Linked DNA regions of Homo sapiens: regions 1, 2 and 4 are each linked to region 3. The links are contacts of gene promoters, found by promoter capture Hi-C in blood cells and fetal thymus (Javierre and others, 2016). All regions are on one chromosome and are shown on one strand. Each heading gives the region's core, a stretch centred on a gene start or on the middle of the fragment in contact. The rest is flanking DNA. Distances are from core to core; before and after follow the strand shown.

The links. The method cuts DNA at HindIII sites, captures the fragments that hold promoters and counts their contacts. A CHiCAGO score of 5 or more calls a contact.
Region 1: a fragment that was not itself captured here is called in contact with the fragment with the promoter of NSUN2 in region 3 in 8 of 17 cell types (naive CD8 T cells, total CD4 T cells, naive B cells and 5 more); the score reaches 13.3 in naive CD8 T cells.
Region 2: a contact is called between a fragment that was not itself captured here and the fragment with the promoter of NSUN2 in region 3, in 9 of 17 cell types (naive CD8 T cells, total CD4 T cells, total B cells and 6 more). The highest score is 15.4, in naive CD8 T cells.
Region 4: a contact is called between a fragment that was not itself captured here and the fragment with the promoter of NSUN2 in region 3, in 1 of 17 cell types (monocytes). The highest score is 7.6, in monocytes.

What each region holds. Positions count from the first base shown.
Region 1 is chr5:5,478,636-5,483,024 of GRCh38, reverse strand. The region is part of intron 17 of ICE1 (interactor of little elongation complex ELL subunit 1); the gene reads right to left. Among named protein-coding and RNA genes, the nearest start is that of ICE1, 58 kb to the right of the region's middle. The HindIII fragment of the contact is 1,366 bases long and covers 1,494-2,859 here.
Region 2 is chr5:5,499,582-5,503,868 of GRCh38, reverse strand. No RefSeq gene overlaps it. Among named protein-coding and RNA genes, the nearest start is that of ICE1, 79 kb to the right of the region's middle. The HindIII fragment of the contact is 3,021 bases long and covers 1-2,907 here.
Region 3 is chr5:6,629,902-6,634,494 of GRCh38, reverse strand. NSUN2 (NOP2/Sun RNA methyltransferase 2) reads left to right here and starts at 1,451. Exons shown (of 19, transcript NM_017755.6): 1 at 1,451-1,611; 2 at 1,739-1,896; 3 at 2,518-2,622. The coding sequence starts at 1,516. It overlaps SRD5A1 (steroid 5 alpha-reductase 1), which reads right to left and starts at 1,055. Exons shown (of 5, transcript NM_001047.4): 1 at 626-1,055. The coding sequence starts at 918. RefSeq lists enhancers at 332-843, 844-1,355 and a silencer at 819-1,208. The HindIII fragment of the contact is 4,632 bases long and covers 1-4,220 here.
Region 4 is chr5:7,752,265-7,756,667 of GRCh38, reverse strand. The region is part of intron 15 of ADCY2 (adenylate cyclase 2); the gene reads right to left. Among named protein-coding and RNA genes, the nearest start is that of CFAP90, 97 kb to the left of the region's middle. The HindIII fragment of the contact is 4,872 bases long and covers 175-4,403 here.

The DNA of each region.
Region 1 (4,389 bases), core at 927-3,426, 1.2 Mb after region 3:
GAGCGAAACTCCGTCTCAAAAAAAACAAAAAAAGAATAAAGACAATTCCTTTATTTTATGAAGATTAGTGTGTGACTTAAGTTATTATTATTAAATCACAGCCTACCAACTTGATTTTTTACTCAATTTTTCAGTCAAGGTCAGATTCAGAAATGGCAAGAAAGTTCACTAACAGTTTCTCCTTAGTAACAATTCAAACTCTCATCCAGATGAGTGTGTGTGTGTGTGTGTGTGTGTGTGTGTGTGTGTTGGGGGGTGGGGGTGTTAATGTCACCTCTGAGAAATCTGCCAGGCCTAAACAGCAGGCTTCACTCACTTTCACCCTTTGCCCTCAGCCCACACTACTGTCCTTGTCACCCAGCAACTGCCTCGCTCTGAGTCCCATCTCCTGCGTATAGTGCCACGGCACGAAAAGGACAGGCAGGACCAGGCTCTGCTGCTCCTCTCCTGTGCTGGTGCACCTGTGCACACGTGGCAGCCCACTAGGCTGTGCTCCAGCCTCCCCACACCCATCTTGCTCATGCACACGACTTCATCAGCAGACCTGAGAAGGGCTTATTCTTCCTGACTTTGCTCCTACTTTGACATTACGCTTTCTAATTATCCATCCTCTGAACTGCTTTTATATGTTTATAAGCATTTTAGTACATGGTATTGTCAATTATATATTATGTTAATTACACATTATTCTTATTCTCTATAACATATAATTGTATTGTATATCAGTCTTAATTGTATAAGTATGCATATATTACTCTAAATAATACATATTATTAAATAGTCATAAATTATTTGGCTCTCAACAGCCAGAATTTTAGATTCAAAGAATAAACTAGACTTGATTTGAACAAAATTACAAGCCATATTTTATCCCTACAATTACACATCCTTCTTTTTAAATAAACTATTAACATATTCTTAATTCACATATTTTAAGGTACATATTTGAAAGTATATAATCTTAAATAGTTTTCTTTAAAAGAGTTTTGTGACATCTAAATGAAAGGTAAAGTACAGTCACAGGTCGCTTAGTCAGGAGACCACATTTTAAGAAATTCATCTTTGAGGAGATTCTGTCCTTGGACAAACATCATCCTAGAGTACACTTGCACAAACATGGATGCAGTAGCCACTACACACCTAGGCTATATGGGGTAGCCTACTGATAGGCTACAAATCTGTACAGCATGTTCCTGTACCGAATACTGGAGGCAACTATAACACTTGAGTAAGCATTTGTGTATCTAAACATAGAAAGGGTACAGGAAAACAAGGTATTATCATCTTCTGAGATCACCTTCTGGTATGTGCTCCACTGCTGATGAAAACATTGTTATGTGGTGAATGACCGTGTATACTATTTTATTTATGGCAATCATTCTTTTCCGAACCCATTATTTCATTAGCATGCCTATAGAGCTTTGCAGACACTACTCTAACACTATCAGAACCTTGGAAGATGGAACCTGAGAATCTATGTTTTTTAAGAAGCTTCTCTGGCAATTTGGATGGCCAGCCAAATTTGGTAATCCCAGAAGATAAACACTAGTTAGAAGAGACACTGGAGAAGACACCAAGATAAATCACAGGTACAGCTGACCCTCCTCTATAAACGCAAAGAGGCTGCTTCCGCTGTCGTATAAGGCTGCTGACCACAAAAAACAGTCTTCACTCTTATTTCCTCTCCAGATTAACCAATACAGAAACACAACCAGTAAAACAAGAACAAAAAAATCACCATATTTTAAAGTGTGACTTAAAAAAATACCATATTGTTTTGAAAATTCCACAGATTATCTAGGATAACATATTTATTTACACCTTAAAACATCTCTTCTAATTTTTTTTAACTCTCAAAAAAGATTTCACAATTTAGAATGAGTCAAAAGCATGAGCATTTTTTCCTGAATTCATAAGAGAAGCTGCTACTGAAATCAGCATTTCCAGATATATAGATGTCACCTAACTATGGGGAATGCCATCACTGACCCTCCTGTGTTCCCTAGCGCTCCACAGCTAGAATGAAAATTGTTCTTGAGGGTATCTTGAACTAAGGAATTCAGCAAAACAGTTTTGAACCTGTACACCACATGGCATAGTTTCATTTCCACTTCTGTGCCTCTGCTTATCTTCTGATGTATCTCTACCAAATTCATAGTCTTTGGCAATCATTTGGTTCTCCTACACTCTTGTTTGGTAACTTATCTCCAAGTGTATTATTGGTTATTTCCAGTGAAATTTGGTGTCTACTTTGTAACCAGGTTTTTGTCTAGAACCATTTTATTTACTTAGGGCAATGTTGCTATATTTGCATGCAAAGTACACACAGAGGAGGAATGCAAATTTGCCGATACAGTAACAAAATTCACAGGGTATTTCCTACTGTGATCTATTTTTAGACTGACTTATATAACCGATTCTCAAACACTAACCTTATTTCAAATGATGCTATCTGTGAGTTTTCATTAAGAAAAATCCGGCTGGGCGCGGTGGCTCCACCTGTAATCCCAGCACTTTGGGAGGCCGAGGTGGGTGGATCACGAGGTCAGGAGATCGAGACCATCCTGGCTAACATGATGAAACCCCGTCTCTACTAAAAATACAAAAATTAGCCGGGCGTGGTGGCGGGCGCCTGTAGTCCCAGCTACTAGGGAAGCTGAGGCAGGAGAATGGCGCAAACCCGGGAGGCGGAGCTTGCAGTGAGCCGAGATGGTGCCACTGCACTCCAGCCTGGGCAACAGAGCCAGACTCCATCTCAAAAAAAAAAAAAAAAAAGAAAAAGAAAAATCCAAAGATACTTAAAAGTCATAATTATCTTCAAAGTATCTAAGGGCTATAATGCAGAAATTGGATGAAGCTTGTTTTATATTCCCCAGGGGCAAAGAATACATGCTGCAGATAGAGAAGTCAGGTCAAAACTAAGAGAGCTTTCTTTTTTCAGTTGTGGAATACACATGCAGAACGTACAGGTTTGTTACATAGGTATACATGTGCCATGATGGTTTGCTGCACCTATCAACCCATCATCTAGGTTTTAAGTCCCACAGGTATTTGTCCTAATGCTCTCCCTCCCCTTACCCCCCATGCCCCGACAGGCCCCAGTGTGTGATGTTCCCCTGTGTCCATGTGTTCTCACTGTTCAACTCCCACTTATGAGTGAGAACATGCAGTGCTTGGGTTTCTGTTCCTGTGTTAGTTTGCTGAGAATGATGGCTTCCAGCTTCATCCATGTCCCTGCAAAGGACATAACTCATTTTTATGGCTGCATAGTATTCCATGGTATATTATGTGCCACATTTTCTTTATCCAGTCTCTCACTGATGGACACTTGGGTTGGTTCCAAGTCTTTGCTATTGTAAATAGTGCTGCAATAAACATATGTGTGCATGAGTCTTTATAGTGGAATGATTTATAATTCTTTGGGTATATACCCACTAGTGTGAGATTGCTGGGTCAAATGGTATTTCTGTTTCTAGATCCTTGAGAATCACCACACTGTCTTCCACAATGCTTGAACTAATTTCCACTCCCACCAGCAGTGTAGAAGCATTCCTATTTCTCCACAGCCTCACCAGCATCTGTTGTTTCCTGACTTTTTAATGATCACCATCCTAACTAGTGTGAGATGGTACCTCATAGTGGTTTTGATTTGCGTTTCTCTAATAACCAGTGAATGATGAGCTTTTTTTCATGTTTGTTGGCCGCATAAATGTCTTCTTTTGAGAAGTGTCTGTTCGTATCCTTTGCCCACTTTTTGATAGGGTTGTTTTTTCTTGTAAATTTGTTTACATTCCTTGTAGATTCTGGATATTGGACCTTTGTCAGATGGATAGATTGCAAAAAATTTCTCCCATTCTGTAGGATGCCTGTTCATTCTGACGGTAGTTTCTTTTGCTGTGCAGAAGCTCTTTAGTTTAATGAGATCCCATTTGTCAATTCAGGTTTTTGTTGCAATTGCTTTTGGCGTTTTAGTCATGAAGTCTTTGCCCATGCCTATGTCCTGAATGGTATTGCCTAGTTTTTCTTTTAGGGTTTTTATGGTTTTGGGTTTTACATTTAAGTCTTTAATCCATCTTAAGTTAATTTTTGTATAAGGTGTAAGGAAGGGGTCCAATTTCAGTTTTATGCATACGGCTAGCCAGTTTTCCCAGCACCATTTAATAAATAGGGAATCCTTTTCCCGTTGCTTGTTTTTATCAGGTTTGTCAAAGATCATGATGATGGCTGTAGATGTGTAGTTATTTCTGAGGTCTCTGTTCTGTTCCATTGGTCTATATGTCTGTTTTGGTATCAGTATCATGCTATTTTGGCTTCTATAGCCTTTTAGTATAGTTTGAAGTCTACTGTGACACTTCCAGCTTTGTTCTTTTTGCTTACAACTGTGTTGGC
Region 2 (4,287 bases), core at 148-2,647, 1.1 Mb after region 3:
CAAATCACCAGTTTTTCAAATCATGAGAGATCTCTCTCTGATTTAAAACTCAAATGATGGTTTGTACATTGTTGGAGAATCTTCTTTGCTCTCCAGTCCAGCCCAGGCTTTTGGATCCACATAGAGCTCCTGCTCTGTCTGGAATGCCCTGGAGGAGTTTCTTTCATCTTTTCTGCCCCACCCGTAGCTATTGTCAGTTGAAAGCCTGAGGTTTTTTTGGTTTTGTTTTGTTTTTGTTTTGTTTTGTTTTTGTTTTTGTTTTTTTTACCATTACAATAGACATTTATTTAAAGTAAAATATCTGCAGACCAAATAATTCTTAAAATTGTTTATTTCAAGTTTAACCATCTTCATTAACAGTTGCATCCACAGACTTCAACCATGTGATTACTTCTTTGCCCATTCTTCTCTTTCTTTTCTTTCCCAAATAACATCTTTCAGATACAGTTCAAGGCAGAAATTTTCCTCTTCATAGTTGGTCCACTGCTTTTGTTTTTTAAGAGAGGAGGATTCCCTCAGGTCTCTTGTTTATGCCCGGCTCTTGGGAACTAAAAATGGTGAGTGCCTTGGGTTGATTTATCACAGATCTCACGCTCTGCTTCTCTCCTCCTTCAGTAGGTGTTGCCTTGGTCTGGGAGAAGGTGCCTTGGACTTCAGGGGAATCTCCAGGTCTCTATCTGGTCTCCACCGCAGGCTCTGGTATACTGTATTAGTCAGGATTCTCCAGATGGATGGAACTAACAGGATATATGTACATATAAAAGGGGGAGTGTTTTTTTGTTTTGGTTTGGTTTTTTCTTTTGTTTTTTTTTTTTTTTGTTTGTTTGTTTGTTTTTATAGGGAGAATTGGCTCACACGATCACAAGGCAAAGTCCCACAACAGGCCGTCTGCAAGCTGGGGAAGAGAGAAGCTGGTAGTGGCTCAGTCCAAGTCCTAAAGCCTCAAAACCAGGAAAGCCAACAGTGCAGCCTTCAGTCTGTGCATGAGGGTCTGAGAGTCGTTGCCAAGCCACTAGTGCAAGTCCCAGAGTTCAAAGGCTGAAGAACCTGGAGTCTGATGTCCAAGGGCAGGAGGAGCAGAAGGAAGCATCCAGCACAGGAAAAAGAAGGAAACCAGAACATCCAGCAAGCCAGCCTATCCCACCTTCCTCCTCCTGCTTGGTTCCAGCCATGCTGGCAGCCAATGGGATGGTGCCCACCTACATGGAGGGAGGGTCTTCCTCTCCCAGTCCACTGACTCAAGACACACCCTCACAGACACACCCAGATACAATACTTTACCAGCCATCTAGGCATCCTTCAATCCAGTCAAACTGACACCTAACATTAACCATCACACATACTGTTCCTGAGCATTTGAGGAAAGCCTGTGGGGGAAGCATATTCTATTATTGAGGAGCCTCAGAATTCTAATCTGTCAGCCATATATGCCATTGCACCTTTACTAAAGTTCATCCTAATTCATCTTTATCCCCATCTATGGCAGATTTCTTTTTCTCTTGTGTTTACAAGAAGAATGAGAATCTCTTCCCTTCCCAGAAAAGGAAGAGATTTTATCTTAGGCCATTAGATGCTTCATGAGGACATTGGAATCAGCAGGCAGATTTAGAGAATCTACTCAGGGCTTTTTACAAGTCTGTATTTTCATTGAAGTTAAGGGCACTTAGCCTACCTGTGCCTCAGCTTTAGAAGCAGACATAATGATAATAATATCTGATTTTCAAGCATGTTCTAATGAAGACAGAGATAAAATATATCTGTCTTCTCTGCTATTTTCTAGAATTTAATCATGTATGGGTTCTTTTTTTTTAATCATCAGCTCTCTGATTAGAAAGACTATGATTTTGTTGCTTCTTACATCTTGCTTGGGTTATTTCATTAAAATAATAGTTTCTTGTTATTTTCTACATTCTAAACATAAGAGAAATCTTCCATCCTCTTACTTTCTATTGTCTATCACTGTGTCTTCCTGTGCTGTTTTCTGGGTATTTTCAGACAAATCATACATAAATTATCTCATCATTTGTAACTAATCTGCTTTTATCCTTGTTTCCTGGCTTTATACTTTGAAATATTTATGTTCGTGTGGTCTTGTTGTTAAAAGCTCCATTTTGCTCTTGTTCAAATTTGGTAAATTTTTGTAATCTCTTATTCTTTTGTCATACTTTTGCATTCCTCTCTTATTTCTTAAACATATTAAACACACATATTTTAGACATTCTAAATGTGGTAAATAAAATATACACAAATTTTGTAAGTCTGCCTCTAAGCACAGTTTGTTGTTCCTGGAAATTCTCTCATGATGTTTTATTTGTTCTTTTATTTCTCATCTGCTTAGGATTGTGTGGGTAGGAGTATGAATTCATGATCCTTGGAACTTCATGTGTGGGGATCTTTTAAGGACTGGAATCAAAATAACTTCCCTGTAGTGAAGATTTGCAACTGCCTTTGCAGGTCCTCGATGGTACTTCTAACCTGGGATCACTGAAAACACATTTTGGGGGAATTGAGCCCACTAGCAGTATATATTCCTGTCCCAAATTCATGAGTGCAGGCCTTTGGGTAGAAATTCTTCTGGGAGATATTGCTGTTTGTGTGTGCTTTTTTCTCTGATCCACCCACAGTTAGGTTAACAGTAGGTTAGCATCCCTATCTTCTTCCTCTTTGGGGGCTTTTTTTTTTTTTTGGCTTACCCCCAAGATATCTCCCTATGTGAGACTTGGCTTTTGGGGGTGGGGTTGTCGCTGATATGACATCCCCTAATTTTGGCCCCAGACTTTGTCTCCATTGCCCTTCTATGTGGCCTGTAACCTTCCATCTGCATCCCACCCGAGACTGTCTACATCCCACCCTGTTCAAATCTAGGGCAAATGGTTTCAGTGCTCCTTTCTCCTGGGGAGTTAAGCTTTCTTGTCCTTTCTCACTTTGAAGAGATTCCTTTATTTGCTGCTAGCTCAACTGTGCATTAAAAATATTTTAGTACATGCCTGTAATCCCAGCACTTTGGGAGGCCGAGGTGGGCAGATCACAAGGTCTGGAGTTCGAGACCAGCCTGGCCAATGTGGTGAAACCCCGTCTCTACTGAAAAATACAAAAATTAGCTAGGCATGGTGGCAGGCACCTGTAGTCCCAGCTACTCAGGAGACTGAGGCAGGGGAATCGCTTGAACCCGGGAAGCAGAGATTGCAGTGAGCTGAGATCGCACCACTGCACTCCAGCCTGGGTGACAGAGTGAGACTTCATCTCAAAATATAAAAGTTAAATATATATATATTTTAGTCAGCATCTTAATCATGCTATTAGTCTACAATTCTGCAGAAACCCCCTCTTTATTTTTGACTTCTACTGGGCTCTACTGACAATGAGTGGGCAGGTTTGTGGTTTCCAGGAGTACCCAGGGATTATGGATTTAAAGCACATTTCAGGCTTCATCTAAGAGAGGTGAAGATGTTTGCCCTTCTTAGACAAGGGAGCCAGGCAGTCCTCTGCAGGTCTACCTTGCAGAGCATCAACAGGGGAAGCCTGCTCCTTCCTCAGGACGCTGGTCCATTGCAACTGTAAAAATATTCTGTTTTAAAAATATTCTCTTAAAATGATTTTTATATTAGTCTTTATTTTGGTCACTGTAAATGTTGACCTGAATATGGATATGACTAAATTTAAAAGTAAATGTATCATTCCTGCAAACTGACTTCTACCCAAATTAAACTTCAAACTAGTCCTAATTATTTTCTCAAAATGCTTAGCAATTATTTCTAATTTTAAATGAATCAATAGGTAGAAATATATATATTACTATCTTTTTACATGACCACTAGAAATTGTGTGTGTTAACTGTTCTTTGAGGTTTTTGTGAGAAAACATTTTGGTTGACTAAGTCCATGCAAGTTTCAGAACTGAGAAGGGAAGTGTTTAATCAAATCTGGAATTATATAAAAAGGTTGTGAAATTATCTGGGGTAAAATCTATTGAATAAGGTGGATATAATCTTGAAATCCTTAATGTGTTTTGTTCTTTTTTCTTGCAGAAAAAGAAGAACCTCACATATGAATGCATACAATATGGCAGTGAGAAGGGGCAATGCACCCAGGAAAAAGGCAGGCTCCAGAGAACAGGCAGAGAGACCTAGTTTGCAACTTCTGTCTGCCACTCACCGGCTCTTGCAGCATGGCTCTTATGCCATAGGCTGTGCACGGTGAAATCTGCCTCGGGATGGCTGCTCTGAGCACTGTGCCTGGTGCCCAGGTCCCCAGGCAGCCGAAAACACACTGCTTTTGCTTTCCACGC
Region 3 (4,593 bases), core at 202-2,701:
AGAAAGGAGTAGAAACCAGTGGCCCTCAAGACCGACCATCAGCATTAGACTCTAGGCCAACCCCCTCCCCCCCGCCCCCACAGTCGTGATCTAAGGGAACAAAATCTAGTCTTCATTTTTATTTTACATTTTTACTTTTTAACTCTTTATTTTTATATATTTAATTTTGAGACAGAGTCTCGCTCTGTCACCCAGGCTGGAGGGCAGTGGCGAGATCTCGGCTCACTGTAACCTCCGCCTCTCGGGTTCAAGCGATTCTTCCATCTCAGACTCCCGAGTAACTGGGATCACAGACAGGCGCCACCGCGCCCGGCTAAGGAAACCAAACCTAGGACCACTGAGTGGCTCTTTCCAGATCAGTTTCATCATGTTTTTTTCCATCACTCCCTTCCAGTCCTTTGTTTCCCGCCCTTTCCAGACGAATCCCTTCTGGTTTCCAAACTCCCGGGGCCGGGGGACTCGGGGAAGGGCACCCGTGCAGATGGGGGACGCCCCGGGGGATCTGGCAGGGAGAGGGCATCTGGGTGGGGGAGGCTTCGGGGAGAGGGCACCGGGCAGTGAGGGGAGGGTCGGAGAGGACGCCGGGCCGGGAGTAGGGTAGGGGGCCGGGGGCCGGGGACGTTACCGATGCCCGTAGTGGACGAGGAACATGGCCAGGAGGATGCAGTTGGGCGCGCTGCGGAGACGCGGGGCGGACTCGCTGGCGTACTGGTAGAGCGGCAGGGCCAGCGAGGGCAGCTCCTGCACCACCCAGGCGGCCCGCGCCGGCACTCGGAGCCTGTGGCTGGGCAGCGCGTGGCGGCCGTACACTGAGTTCGTCTGACGATTGCGCGCGAAGACCGCGCAGCCCACGGCGCACTGCAGGTAGGCGAGCGCGGCCAGCAGGCGCTCCTCCGCCACCCCCGTCGCCGTTGCCATCGCCAGGGCTGGGCAGCGTGCTCCATGCCCCAGAGGCCGCGGCGGGCAACATATAGGGCGGCGGCGCGGGGGCAGGAGGGGCGGCTACCGGAGGGGCGGCTACCGGAGTCCCGCACTGCCGGGACTCTGCAGAAAGGGTTCTCAAGTCAGGCTTCTCCGGGGTAGCCGGGGCTGTGGGTGCGGCCCCGGGGGCGGGGCGAGCACTTGCGCGGGGAGGGACCTGCAAGCGCCCCACCCACGCCGGGGCCGCAGTAACCCCGCGCCGCTCTGCGCACGCGCGGCTTCAGGCTGTCCGCGGAGCTCCTTGAGCCCGCGTGGGAAACCTGGGCGCTTCGCGCGGAGACGCCTTTGTGGCTGCTTCCTGGAGCATTTTTTTCCCCTTAGAGCTGTTCGCTGTTTTCCCTGTCACGCCGCTTTTCTGAAAGACGGGTTGTGCGCTTTGGGCTTATTCCTGGACGGTCCCCAAAGGTCCCCGAAAGGACCAGGCCCGGACACGTGGGGCCTTGGTTTCCGGCCGGAAGTCCCGGGAGGTGTAGGGCTAGAGTTCTGGCCGTGGCGGGCCGGTTTCTGCGTGCTGCGTGCGCGGCCGCGTGGGCTATGGGGCGGCGGTCGCGGGGTCGGCGGCTCCAGCAACAGCAGCGGCCGGAGGACGCGGAGGATGGCGCCGAGGGTGGTGGAAAGCGCGGCGAGGCGGTAGGAGCCGGGACCCGGCGGGCGGGCCAGGGGCTCCTCCTGGGCTTCCCGGACCCCGAGGCCTGCGAGGCGGCGGCGAGGGGGCGGCTCCTTGGGCCTCGGGGTAGACGTCTCTTTCCTTCCTCAGGGCTGGGAAGGAGGCTACCCCGAGATCGTCAAGGAGAACAAGCTGTTCGAGCACTACTACCAGGAGCTCAAGATCGTGCCCGAGGGCGAGTGGGGCCAGTTCATGGACGCTCTCAGGGAGCCGCTCCCGGCCACTTTAAGAATTACTGGTTACAAAAGGTAGGGAGGCAGTGCCTGATTTTTTGGGAGTTGGGGCCAGGATGCTGGAGGTTAAAGGCGACGGTGTTTTCTTCGACAAGTGTTACAGTGCCAGAGAACCGTGGCGTTTCAGCGGTTTGGATTCAGGAAGCATTGAGGTGGGGAGCACAGGGTCCAATGAAATGGTCACGGAGGTATTGCAGGCGCAAGGTTAGAAGACGAAATGAAAATGAGATCTGAGGAAGATTCGGCTCCTGGGGAATCTTCCAGGAGGGAAGCTGAGGGTCTTACCTTTTGGAACGTAAGAGAATTTATAGAGAATGCATAAAACCCCTTGGTTCTCCCCTCCTCCGCGCCCCCCCTCCATCTTTGTAGTTACATCTTTCTAAATGAGTCGCAAGTAAAACTTAACGGTAGGATATGCTTAGGAGAGAAGGAATGCAGTGTTGCTCTTAGGGCTCAAACAGTGTGGATTGCTTAAATTTTGAAGGCATACAGTGTAAAAGTAGTGACTAAAGAATGTTTACTCTCCATGCAAAAGTTGGTTTTAGTTTTAAAACACTTGCAGTCTTAAATTTAAGAAGATACAATGTATTAACTTAGTTTTTTAGATCAGTTTGAAACTTCCTTATTTTTCAATAGCCACGCAAAAGAGATTCTCCATTGCTTAAAGAACAAATATTTTAAGGAATTGGAGGACCTGGAGGTGGACGGTCAGAAAGTTGAAGTTCCACAGCCACTGAGTTGGTAGGTACCACAGTGCTTCATGCCGAATATTTATTTGGGATATTAATCTCTATCACTTGAATTATATTTCTTGGTACTGCATTTGCTGTTAAAGAGCTTGGGTATACTTTGCAAACATCCTAATGTTCTAGTACCTGGTGCTTTTATCAACATTATATTGCTACGCAAGTTTTCATGCGATTTGCGATTTGCAGCTTTATGAGTCACTGATTTCAGCCAGCTCTTCCTAGTACATCCAGCCTCTTCCTTTATGTCACCACTTCCGCCAGCTCCCTTTTACAGCCCTTGTTTTCTCACATCAAAACTGTTGCAGAGTGGCTGCTTTGCCTTCAGAAAAAGGACAGACTTAGCTTGACAACAGTCTCCTGGTAGGTAGTCTCTTAGTGTTTTCCATTACAGACAGGTTACCACTGTCTGCTGTCAGGTTGTCTCCTGGTACTTCGCAGTACAGACTGCACCAGCCAATGTAGCATTTCCGAGTCTCAGCACCCAAGCGTGCTACTACTCTGGGAGCTACCTCTTTCTTGACCTGTCCTGGAGGTGCCTTCTGGGTTACCTATTCCTCATGGCTCGGTTCTAGTCTCAGTTGTATGAAGGTGATCCCTTGTGCTGATAGCATCTTGTAAAGATGCTTGGAGAACTCCGGAGGCGCCAGTCCTTCAGTTAACTTACATAAGTGGGAAAGTCGTTATTATTAACTTTGAGGTATTGAGTTCTCAGAAAAGTAATGCACGAAAAGGTGAATTAAGCCGTTTTTTGTTTGTCTGTTTGTTTGTTTGGAGACGGAGTCTCACTCTGTCGCCCAGGCTGGAGAGCAGTGGCACCATCTTGGCTCACTGCAAGCTCCACCTCCCTGGTTCACGCCATTCTCTTGTCTCAGCCTCCCGAGTAGCTGGGACTACAGGTGCCCGCCACCACGCCCGGCCAATTTTTTTGTATTTTTAGTGGAGACGGGTTTTTACCTTGCTAGCCAGGATGGTCTCATCTCCTGACCTCATGATCCGCCCACCTCGGCCTCCCAAAGTGCTGGGATTACAGGCGTGAGCCACTGCGCCCTGCCAAATTAAGCGTTTTGCATCAACTTTTGAGGTTTTGACTATTCCAGTACGTAGTGTTATCTTTCCTTTTTGGATAACCTTTAGTGTTCGCAAATCAAGGTCAGATTTTCATTAATCATGGGGTACAGATTTGCTTGTTTTTCTTTCATTGGCTATTTGGATTTTCATTGTCCCTATCACAGATAAGCATATACATTCACAATGAATGCTGACTGGCCAAACATTAAGTCAGTATTCAACCAGTATCAAGACCGAATATCACCATCATGGAATGTGTTGCTGGGATATAGGAATAAATATGACCAACATCGTGAAACCCTATCTCTACTAAAAATACAAAAATTAGACAGGCATGGTGGCACACGCCTGTAATCCCAGACACTAGGGAGGCTGAGGCATGAGAATCGCTTGAACCCAGGAGGTGGAGGTTGCAGTAAGCCAAGATCATGCCACTGCACTCCAGCCTGGGCCACAGAGCGAGACCATGTCTCAAAAAGGGAAAAAAGAATAGATATGCCACATCTTAGATTTTTAAAAGCTTGAAGGGTACAGTATAGGAAAATGATACGGGTGCTACGTTGCTGTTAGTGGTCACTAATTGTCCACTGTAGTGAGATCAGTGGAAAAGGTAGATGTTTTTCAGCCTCTAGTTATGGCATTGCTGAGATGAGGTAACCTTCACGAGATCAAGCTTTTCTTCCTCCTGGTAACTAGGTTGTAGACTTTGCTCAAGTCGTTTGGTTTGAAGATTTGATTGACGACACTGATTGTGTTGTACTTGAAGTAGAGGTCTGATACTGTAGTAGTCCATTTTCACACTGTTATAAGGACATACCTGAGTAATGTATAGATAAAGGAAATAGGCTTAATTGACTCACATTTCCACATCGCCGGGGAGGCCTCAGGAAGCTTA
Region 4 (4,403 bases), core at 1,361-3,860, 1.1 Mb before region 3:
CCGGCAACCACCATTCCCCTTCCTGTTTCCATGACTGTGACTATTCTAAGACCTCCTATAAGTGGAACCATCTAGTAGTTCTCCTTTTGTGACTGGCTTATTTCTTTCAGCATAATGTCACCAGAGATCACGATGTTGTAGCATTATGCCAAGATTTCCTTCTTTTTTAAAGCTTGAATAAAACTCCATTGTATGGATCTATACTTTTTTTTATCCATTCATAAAATGGACACTGAGTTGCTTCACCTCTTGGCTGTTGTGAATATGCGGCTATACATATCGGGGTTGGGGAAACTTTTTTGATACAAGAAGGAATTGAGATCTTTGGGGAACGACAGCCAGCATTTGCTCCCCATTCACCATGGGGTCTCAGTGCATAAGCTCACCCATCTTGAGGGCCACCTTTCCAAGGATTCTCACCATATTCTCCCAGGTATGAGTGTGGAGCAGTACACAGAGTTCCACTGAACTGTGGGTGACATCAACTCTGCCTATGCAGATGCTGCGTGGGCATAATTTGCATACGTTATCTGATATGAGAAGCAGGAAGTAAAAGTCCTCCAGGGATTGACATTGTTATCTTCACACTAACGGGCCTGTGGTCCCAAGGCTATGTGTCTTGGAAACAAAACAAGGTGATGATTTCAAGAAATTCAGAAGAAGGAATAACATAAATTATGCCCTTTGATCGATACTACCAAGTTAACCTATTGGCAAACAAAGCTGGTGTGACATCAGTGAAATTCAAATTCAAATAAAGAATATTCCTGAACAGCACAAATAGGCTGCGCTTTCAGTTCTCTACTTCTTTCACATCTTATTTTTGTATTGTTCCTAAAATTATTGTTGCCCTAAGCATTGCTGTATGTTCAATGTTGATACAACAGTTGAATGATCGTCTAAACACAGGAGAGAGGAGTTGAGAAGGTTAAAGAATCAGCCATGGCCTAGCTTCAAACCTCTACTGCTGGGAAACTTGCGCAAATTAATGATCCTCTCTGAAATGGGGTCCCAGTTTCTTCCTCTCTGAAACGGGGATAATAACAGTACCTGCCTCCTCTGTCTTTGCAGAGGTTTAAACGAGTTAGAGAAGGTGCGTGCAACAGGACTTACAAGTGTTAGCTCTTCCTGTTATTTCAATGAAGAAAACACAATGTTTCTTAGAAACATTTTAGTGACCAAAATCCTATTTCCTTTATATCTATGTAAACAACAACAAAATCTCCTCCTCTCTACTCCTTTCCACCATGTTTTTTTTTTTCTTCCTTCCAGCTCCTGATAGGAAAAGATGAACAATGTTTGTGTACAGCGCACATGCCCCCCTGAGGGAGACGCAGGACCAGGTTCCGGGTTCACTTCTTGGGCTGATTTTCCTGCGCCCTCGTCTCATTTCTCTGAGTACCTACCAGGGAGCTTGAGCCACTGCTGCCCTCAGCCGCACAGGCTGCCCAGAGCTGGACTGCTGACTGGCGGCAGGGGGCGCCCTCGGCCCAGCTCTGCAGGACATCTGATCACCGGCAACAGAAGAACCAGATCTGTACTTGACGCTTCTACTTAAGAGCAGGTTTGGATAGGGGTTGGTGATGGCAGGAAATCTGTCATGCAGCAAGATGTCCCTTAATGCTCTGAACATGCAGCATCTTAGAGGGTCAGGTAGCCAGAGAACATCCACCCACGAATGGTTATCATTATTGTTTAATGCATGCTACTTCTAATAATACTAATATCACAAAACACAGTCAGATCTGTGTTCCGTAGAAGAAGGTTTTTTGTTTTGTTTTGTTTTGTTTTTTCTTTTTTTTTTTCCTGAGACGGAGTCTTGCTCTCTCACCACTCAGGCTGGAGTTCAATGGCACGATCTCTGCTCACTGCAACCTCCGCCTCCTAGGTTCAAGCGATTCTCCTGTCTCAGCCTCCTGAGTAGCTGAGTTTTTTTTGTTTGTTTGTTTTGTTTTTTGCCATTACCTTTAAACCGCAACTACTTTTGCACCAACCTATAATACAATATGAAGAGCCGAGCTTCAAATGAAATATTATGCTCATCTAGCTCAGATTCCATTAGATAATGGCATTTGGTTTGATTCTCACAAATTAAGACAGTATTTATATATTCACATCCAGATTGACTACAGTTAGTACCTTTAAGAGAAAATTATTAAAATCAATGCTCTTATATTTGTGAAATTATGATAATTTCTGTACACAGAAATTATCAATAGATATGATAATGAAAATGTTAACAGTAGAACATTTAAAAAGTTTATTACTTCAGGGGAAAATGTACATCTAGCTAAGATTGCATATCACTGTCAATTAGGTAAAATATTAGCTAGTTATTACACAGACAAATTTTTGAAATTACAAAATTAAAACAAGTTACTGTGTTTGAAGATTTAGAAAAATACGTGGTGATAATCTTGTCAAATATGCTAATCTAATAGGAATATGTTATATTCTGCTCATAGGCTAGTAACTTACTAAAACAGACCCGGGCAGATATGCAGGAATTTTTTTCTGTTCGTGTGACATGCCAGGCAAAATGACGAATCGGCAGCACTTGCAGCTACTTACTAGACGCATGGGGGTTTGGCAGACATGGGTTTGGCACAACAGGTTCAGGATGCGCTTGGTTCAATTATTCACCCATGCATTTTCCATGCATACCTCAAAGTTCTCCCTCACAATTGTTTTAAAACTTATGCCAAATGTGTTGTTCCAGAGGTCAGGGAGACAGGCGGTATCTTTCCTTGTCACCAAGCAGTGACAAGGTAAGTAAACCTGTTCTGAAGTGTAAAAATTGGTAGGCATTGCTGCTGGCAAGGACAAGAAAGTAGAAGAGAACAGAGAGGTGACAGTTGCAATGACAGGGATGAAAGAGGAAGTGGAGGATCAAGCTGGTGGGGGGAGCAGAAGAAACCAATGATGGGGATAAGAGGAGAAACAGGACTAAGATTCTAAAATGGAAGGAACCTGATTAAGAAAAATGGAGACCCTTGATTCAGTGTGTAGCTCTGTAGAAAAATTACAACTTGGCTCTTGATATGATCATTGGCTTCAGTTTATCCTGTTTTTGATTAAGTATTAAAGGCTCTGGTGGAAAAATGTTTATCAAAATTCCGACCATCCTAATTAAATGTTATAAATGACAACATCTCAAAAAATATTTTGGCCTTTATTTGGAAGATACTATTCAACTGAAAATGAGAAAATGCCTGCTGTGAGCCCAGTCAGTGGAGTCATTTTCTTTGATCTTTGGTTTAACTCCTGGCATAATTTCAACCACATCTGTTTCCTCCCTTCCTTGATCATCTCACTGAACCCCATGATCGGCTCTTACTTACAGTGAGCTCACCGTGTACCTTCTAGAAATGCACTTGGATGTGAATATCACATTCATCCATTAACAAACAAGGGATTGATACTAAATGCAGTGGGAGATGTAATAAAAGAAGAAATATATAGGAAAATCCTAGCCAGGCACTGTGGCTCACGCCTGTAATCCCAGCACTTTGGGAGGCTGAGATGGGCAGATCATGAGGTCAGGAGTTTGAGACTATCCTGGCCAACATGGTGAAACCCTGTCTCTACTAAAAAGACAAAAATAAGCTGGGTGTGGTGGCGGGTGCCTGTAATCCCAGCTACTAAGGAGGCTGAAGCAGGAAAACTGCTTGAACCCGGGAGGCAGAGGTTGCAGTGAGCTGAGATTGCACTACTGTACTCCAGCCTGAGTGACAGAGCAAGACTGTGTCTCAGAAAAAAAAAAAAAAAAAAAAGGAAAATCCTATCATAGAATTGATGATGGGGACAACGAGCAGTGGGGTGTGGTAGGAAAAACGTGGGATGAATCCCAATGTTCTTAATCCAGTACATGCAGATCTTCCTCAGAAAAACAAAATGTTCATACATGCTCCACCAAAAATATCAGCCAGCTTCTCTTCCTTCCCTCTCTCTTTCCTTTTTTTTTTCTTCCCTTGTTTTGATCCACTTGCAATGGAAACAACTGGTAGTCTCTCAAATTAAGTTAAATCTAAATTTTTCACTCTAAAATTAATTCTTCATAATTTAACTTAATCATTATAAAAGTAGACTTCATTTACAGTTTCATTAGTTTCCATTTTAACAATAAGATGAGACACTTGAAGAGAAGTAGAAGCTCATATTAAGTGAACTTAATAAAATGAAAAAAAAAATCCAGAAAAGTTATAAAGATATCAGAGTGGCTGAGAAGCAAACTTTTATTATTAGAAAAACGAAATCCATCTTAAAAATCTTGCTTGGAAAATATAGTGGTTTCATGTTTCATATAAACATGTACTTTTGTGTATTTGCCTAAAGGAACATCTACTTTGGCATTTTAATTAGCTGAGGACCGTCATTCTGAATGGCAGGAATAAGCCGGAGCA